Linked DNA regions of Homo sapiens: region 1 is linked to region 2. The links are contacts of gene promoters, found by promoter capture Hi-C in blood cells and fetal thymus (Javierre and others, 2016). All regions are on one chromosome and are shown on one strand. The core of a region is centred on a gene start or on the middle of the fragment in contact, and the rest is flanking DNA. Distances in the headings are between cores, read along the strand shown.

What was found. Contacts are between HindIII fragments. The CHiCAGO score rates a contact against its expected background, and 5 or more counts as called.
Region 1: a fragment that was not itself captured here is called in contact with the fragment with the promoter of LURAP1L in region 2 in 1 of 17 cell types (megakaryocytes); the score reaches 5.7 in megakaryocytes.

The regions. Positions count from the first base shown.
Region 1 is chr9:13,013,884-13,017,523 of GRCh38, reverse strand. No RefSeq gene overlaps it. Among named protein-coding and RNA genes, the nearest start is that of SNORD137, 43 kb to the right of the region's middle. The HindIII fragment of the contact is 623 bases long and covers 1,351-1,973 here.
Region 2 is chr9:12,772,973-12,776,786 of GRCh38, reverse strand. It overlaps LURAP1L (leucine rich adaptor protein 1 like), which reads right to left and starts at 1,767. Exons shown (of 2, transcript NM_203403.2): 1 at 760-1,767. The coding sequence starts at 1,071. The region is part of intron 2 of LURAP1L-AS1 (LURAP1L antisense RNA 1); the gene reads left to right. The HindIII fragment of the contact is 1,821 bases long and covers 1,599-3,419 here.

The sequences.
Region 1 (3,640 bases), core at 413-2,912, 240 kb before region 2:
AGCTAATGTAGAGTTTTTGGCAGCATTAAATAAAAGATATGTTCTGTTCTCAAGGAGTTTAGAATCAATGAGGTTAGAAAAACAGCACTCAATTAACCTAAAAAAGTAATTCTTTATTAGAGGGGTAAGTTGACAAAGAGCTATGACAAAAGAACAAACATGCAATTACTTCTAGTGAATTCTAAGACATTATGATATAGATGGCATTAATACTGGGCCCTGAAGCCAAATACAGTTCATTTGAACTAAGATTATTTTAAAATTTCAGTGACAAAACCCATAAGTGCATGATCAGTACATTATAACTTCTCTCCTACTCAAATGAAACTAGTGTATAGTGTATGTATAAAAAACAGAGATCAAAATTGAAAGGAAATATCCTTTGTAAGATGCTAGGCAGGTCTATGAGTAATGATCACTATGTCCAGTGATAAAAGTATGGCTGTCTATCAAACCTTCACATTAAAAAATTCTCAAAATGTATAGAACAGATTAAAAAATCACATTTCTTTCCAATTTGATTTAAATTTTAGTTTCCTTTCCCCCTAAAGTTGTGAAAATGCACATTTGACATTATTAAACCTGAAACTGATTTTTCCTACCCTATCTAACTTTTGGATTATTTCAATATTTTTTATGGCTATTTAAGTTTTCTTTACAGGAAAGGAGAACGGGCTATATATTTACTGAAAAATAAAATCAAATATGAATGACCACATTTGTGGAGGAGGAATCAAATTCAGATTAATAATAAGTTAAGAAGCATTACTTTCTAATCTTCAGGCTGAGGGACTCCTGTTTTGTTGAAATGCTGGGACAGAAAATTCTGTAATGGCGAATTCACAAAGAGTTATGAGCACGGAGTGCTGCCTTCCTGCCACCTTCCAGGGCTGCTTTCTGGTCATATCTGTCAGCTAAATTCCTAGTATATTAAGCTGATCCTTTTCAGAAAGGATTTAACAAGTAATATGCTTAGCTTAAATAGTGCCAACATAGCATTGCACACGGAAATTCCCAGCAATTCTGAGACAAATTTGGGTTGGGTAAGATAAAAAGATATAAGTCAAAATTCCTCAGAAACTATTACCAAGAAAAAACACCACTGCTCCAAAACAAAAAGAAAACAAAGCACATTAGCTCTGGTAGACACTATGATGCTTACCAATATCCAGTTCTCTTTTCTTCTGGGGCTTAGGGGAAACTACCCCTCCTAGCACCCTTGCAGTTGTGTGTGGCCTTTGACTAGTTTTTGTGCATGAAATGTGAACAGAAACATCTCTGTGAGATTTTCCAGTATTCTCACTCTTCCACTAAAAGGTGTTCTGAAACTACATTTTCCATAGTGAAGCTTCCATCAGTTGGAGATTGTGTGGAGTAGGGCAAAATACAATGTATTGGACACTCAGAGTTAACAATAAATGTAACTTCATTGTATTAAGACCCTTAGATATCACAGTTAAATTGTTACTGCAATATAACCTAGGTTATTCTAAGGAACATACCAGTTAACCAAAAGAAACAGACACAAAAATTATATGTAAAACAAACCAGAAAGAAATTCGTTTGAGTTTAGTGTGACTGCATATTTTTTCTGTTTTAGGTTTGAACATATATACACACTACTTTTATGAATGAAAAAATTATACTCTAAAAAGAGATTATCTATAAAATCCTCCTGAGTTTAAAGGGAAAACAACCACTTTTTATTCTTAGATATTTGCATTCCCTCTTCCAGTCATAATCCTGGATGTTTACAAATAGAATAAACTCTAAAGGTAAGCTGGTTTTTATCCATCATAAAATTTTAGATTTCCTATTGGTGGCTTCCTCCATGTAGTTCCTTACTTTATTCCTTCTTTCCTTCAATCTTATGTTATTTCCCAGCACGTTGACACTCAGATTATTTCGTTAGTTCTGCAATAATGTTTTATATGATGAATAGAGGGAATTGTTTGAAACTAGTTATTGAAGCTTGTCTTGATCTTATTCTAAGTCATGGAAAATCCCTCTGAGTTCTCTGCTAAGGGGCCTGGCATCACGTGAAGCTTTGCTACTTGCCTGGAAACAGCAATTTCACCTTTGAGTAAGAATAATCAGCAGTTTATGAATGTTTGTACATCTCTGTGTACGTGTGTGGGTGTGCCTGTGTGTGTTTGTACATGCATGTATGATGGAACATCTTGGATTTTGTAAAACAATACAATTTCAACACTCCCTCCATAGTTGACAAATGCTCTGTATTTCCCCTCCATCCCCAACTTGTCATTTCTATCTTTTTAGGTTAAAAGAGTGAGTTGTATTAAAAATTAAGTTTTAATTGTTAAATATGTAAAATGTAGCAGACATTTAAGTAGCCACCATTAGTATCTGGAAGCTATAAACACTTTCTCCAAATCCGTGAAAAATTACAAACAAGCCAATAGAAAAATTGACAAAAAACATGAATAAGTAATCTACAAATGAAGAAACTAGAATTCTCATTATACATATAAAACAATGTTTAATTTCACTAGTAATTAGAAGAATGCAACAGATAAGTATCATTTTGTAGCCATGAAGTTAGACATAATGATAAAATCTAATAAGGCTTAGCACCCCAAAACAACCAAACTCTAATACATTGTTATTAGGAGTGAATATTGGCACAACAAAGTGAAAGAAAAAGTTGGAATTATTTAGTGTTATGGGTTGAACTATGTTCACCCCAGAAAAGGCATGTTGAAATCCTTATCTCCAGTACCTCATAATGTGACCTTATTTGGAAATACAGTCATTGCAGATACAATTAGTTAATATGATGCCATACCAGTTTAGGGTGGGCCCCTAATCCAATAGGACTGATGTCCACATAAGAAGATGGCTGTGTACAGATACAAAGACCCAGGGAGAATGCTATGTGAAGAAGGAGGTGGAGATTGGAGTTATGCTTCCTCAAGCAAGGAATGTCTGTGGTTACCAGAAGTGGGAAGAGGCAAGACAGCATCCTTCCTCCCTACTAGAGTGTTTGCAGGAGGAATGACTCTGCCAACACGTTGATTTTGGATCTCTATCCTCCCCCAAAATGGGACAATACATTTCTTTTCCATTAGGTCCCCAAGTTTGAGATATTTTGTTGTGGTAGACCTAGGAAACTAATACATCTAGTTAAGCTAAAAATATGCATACTGATGATTCACAATTCTATCCACCCTAAACAAATTCTCCCACATTAACACAAAGAACCCAGTGAGTGCAACTTAGGGTCTTTCAAAAGTATTCTATGGACCTCATGGTAGATGTTTCTGTGTATGTATAGTAGGATGGGGTGGAGAGTGGTAAGCTAATGTGGTTGTTGGCCCCTCATCCTGGCTTCAACCACAGTTATTTGTTTTTAGTTCTGCTTAAGACTTCCCTTGAATAAAGAATTCCATGACTAAAAGGAAACTTGAAAGCAAGTGGAATAAGAAGACATTCTTTTCTAAAGTGATGACATTTCCTTTTAGAAAACTCTTTGATCTAATTTAAAGCTTTTTCTCTTTGTACCTCCTTTTTCGGTGTTATTATTTTATCTATGTATCTTATATACAATATTTTTATTTTAGTGAATTTTTTCCCCTTCTGATATTTTTACTCTTATATAGGTTTAATTTTATTGTTGACA
Region 2 (3,814 bases), core at 518-3,017:
AAACGTTTGCAAACAGCAGGGAAAACAACTGCAGATTGAGACTTGAGGGAGAAGGGTGGGAGATGGTCCTTAGCAGATCCCTGGGCCTGGGGATCACCTGCTCCCTGGGATCAAAATAGTGAAACAAGCTATTCATAAGTACATCAAGGACGAGTAGGCCATTGTTTTCAGAACCAGCTGTGGAGAATCTGCTCGACAGTGGCCTTGGAACAGCTGCGGCTGCTGCACCAAGAAGGGAGGGCAGGAGGGCGGAGCGGTACTGGTGGAAGGGTGAGCTAGGAGGAAAGGCTGCAAGGACCCTGCCACGCCACCTCCCGGCAAACCAGGAAGTATTTTTGCAGTAAGTGCATTGGACTGAGCCACCTTTTGAACCTACCCGAAGTGTTAACAGCGCACAGCAGGCCTTAGATGGGTGCAATAACTGCAAACTCTCAACGGGCTGGTGCCTAAGAGGCTACGGGCTGGCAGCTAAATAGAGCCCGGCGCAGTGAGTCGCGTTGTCCGAAAGTACACAGAGTGGAGCCAGCCGACTGTGCTGTCTTTGCAAACCGTGACCGAGCAAAGTCCGCGGTAAACAAGCCTCGCAGCAGCTGCCTCCGGATGAGCGCCCCCTGCTCATTCCTCCACCCAGCATTTCCCACGCGCCCAGCGCTCCGCTCTGCAGCCCCTGCCGTCCTCTCTCCCAGCCCCATTCTCAGATCGCCCCATCTTTTGGCCCAGCCCAGGTCCCAGCCCCCGCGGCTGGCGCACCACACTCACCATCTCTTGCCTGAGGAGGTGAAGCTTGGTTTCTAGCCTCTCCAGGGCGCTAGAGTGGCTACCTCGTGGGGAGCCAGAGGTTGGGGAGGACGAAGAGGAGGACGACAAGGAGGGAGGGAAGCTGCAGTAGCTGCTGCTGCTACTGCAGCCGCCGCCGCCGCCGCCACCACCACCGCTCCCCCCGCAGGGGTCCCTGTCCCTTTCCCTGGGAACCGGCTCCTCCCCACGGAGAGAGCGCACTAGACTCTCGGGTACTTTGCGCCCCAGCTTCAGCTCGATGTCTCTGAGGTCTGGCAGCGGGCTGTCTTCCATGACTTTTCCGGAACGGCGATAATAGTAATAAAACGCAGCAGATGAAAGGCAGCCACGGCTTCGAAGGCTGCTGCGAAATCAGCAGACCTCTCCGGGGGCCAGGGTCTCTATCCTCCGCCGCTCCGGTGTACCGTCCTTTCCATAACCGCCTATGCGGTATCAGCCCTGAAATCCGCACAGGACGCGGGGGGTCGCAGCTGCAGTTCCCAGTCCGCTGCGACTCCTCCGACACTAAGATGATCAAGATCTCCTCATTCTCTCTCTTTTTGGCCACCTCACTGCAAAGTTGAGTTCACTGATATTGCAGACAGAGGGGGAATAAAGAGGGGGAAGTAGTGAAAGAAAAGAGAGGGAAATTAAATCTGTTTTAGCTTTACCAAGGGAAAATTTTCACATTATAAAACCGTCCGTTCACATCCCTGCGCCGCTCACTGACTGCCCATCTGGTACTACGCGACACAAAATAATGATGCAGCCAGAAACGATGTCCTGGGTCGTTTCATTTTCCAGCCATATGCCTCCAAGCTTTCGGGATATCCTGGGTTGTCAGAAATAATCTCTGGTCAGTGAAAGAGGAGTTCGGTCGTGTGCATGGACCCATAAAAAAGAGCTAGTTAGCTTAGCAGGAGTTTAACGGCTTCCTTGATGCAGCAAAAATGTCCTTCTTCCCATTTAGGCTGTTTGATCCAAGTCATTGTGTTCCTCTGAGCCTCGGAAACTTTAAACTCCGCTGGCAGGTGGACCAAACCAGGACCAACCCTTCTACCGTATATCACAGACAAGAAGAGCAACCGGAATTTTCCCAACCCTGTCGCTAGTAGCAGAGTTTCAAAGCCCTGCTTTAGTTAGGAATACCAGTTGATTTTTCAGTTTTCCTGACTAGCTACAACCTTTAAAACAGGTTTTAAAATGAGAGATAGAGGAATGACTTTATATTTGGTGTCTTCGTTTCCCATCTCTCTACCTTCCTCAAAGGAAAAACAAACAGAAAACCTCTCTTTAGAAGACTTTCCTAATAATTTTATTCTAATAAAAAGAGTGAAACAATTTCATCAAAAGTTCAATGGAAATGTACAATCAAAATTAATTATCCTACCAACTGTTACAGTATGCAAACAAAAGTGAAAAATTAAATAGCCAGAATAACTTACATGACTGCTGAGATAGCAGTGAAATTTTAAGAACAAGCAATTGCTGAGATACTTACTTTTATTTTAATTATGGAAGAAAAAATATTGGGAATAACTATTTAAAATGTTGTCTTCTTTGATAATTTATCTATAAATTAATTTATAGATTTTTTCAACTATACAAATTGTACAATTAATTGTATAGTTGAACAATTGTACAATTTATTAATTTGTACAATTGTACAATTCATTAATCTGAAATACTTCTACCAAGTAAGTTATTATGAGCTACATGGATTACAGATCTGAATCAGCATTGAGTTTGTGTCAAAAATGTTTAAGTAGAGGATACTAATTTCAATCCAGTAAACTACAATTTTTGATTTCCATTGAAATATTTCAAAGTATGTGCCCCTCTATTTCTGTGACATATAAGTATTTGTGTTCCTGGTCACTCCGAGGCTCCATTTCCAGAGACATCATTCAGGTTTTACACTTGTAGGAACATAGGTATATACATCTCAGAGTTTGTTTTTATCATATCTGACTCTAGGAAACCTTATACGTAGAGGAAACATACGCATTCTAAATGAAATATTTCATGTCAGGGAAAAAATGCTGAACTTTCTATCAACATGCCAGAAATTTGCATGCTATTTCTCCCTTTTAAAAAGAAATGAAGAAAATAGTTATAAGTTAGATGACCCATTTCAAAGTTAGAACTACCACTTACAGAATCAAGGGAAAACAAGACCAAATCCCAGCTAACTGATAAAACTACATGCTTGGTCCTAAATTTGGAAAAACACAAGCTCGTTGCATAAGAATTGCACTGTGGCATGTAATTATGAAAGGCTTGTGTTTCAGTCAAGAACAGTTTATTATTACAAAACCCTTACAAAGTTCAGCATAAGGCTGGCTAAGTGCAGTTTATAGATGAAATATCTAGCTAGAAATTGGTCAGTAAAAAACAAATGTCAAATTATCGTGTGTCAATATAGAAAAATGGGACACCTCTTCTGCTATGAATCACAGACTGCAAAATCAGTATTTGAGGCTGAGGATAATTTAATATATACGTATATGTATGTATATATGTATATAGTTTTTTAAAGAAGTCTGCAGGAGAAACTCCTCTGAGAGTAAAAGTGTGATGTATATGCAAAGTAACTTTGTTCCAGTGAAATATAAAAAAATGTAAACTTTTGAAGGAAAGCTTAGTATGTCAAGCTTTAAATTTTTTTTCGGTTAAATGCCTATTGACATTTTAGTTTAAAATGAAGACATTTTGAATGATGCTTTAGCTAGTTTTCAGAATATATTAAAATCATTGAATGTTTATGGATCTATAATAGATTGTTGTTAATGCTACCATAACTGCTTTATGTGGTTTAATCTGAGGACATTTCTTACTCAAACTATTTGAAAACTTTTTTTTTTTACTTTGGTTCTTGAGCATGTGTTTTGTTTGTTTGTTTTCAAGATTCTCAAGAAACTGAGTCAGCCTGGGCAATATAGCGAGACCCCACCTCTTCAAAAAATTTAAAAATTAGCCAAGCATGGTGGCATGCACTTGTAGTCTTAGCTAAGGGGTTAGGGGTGAGGGAGTGAGG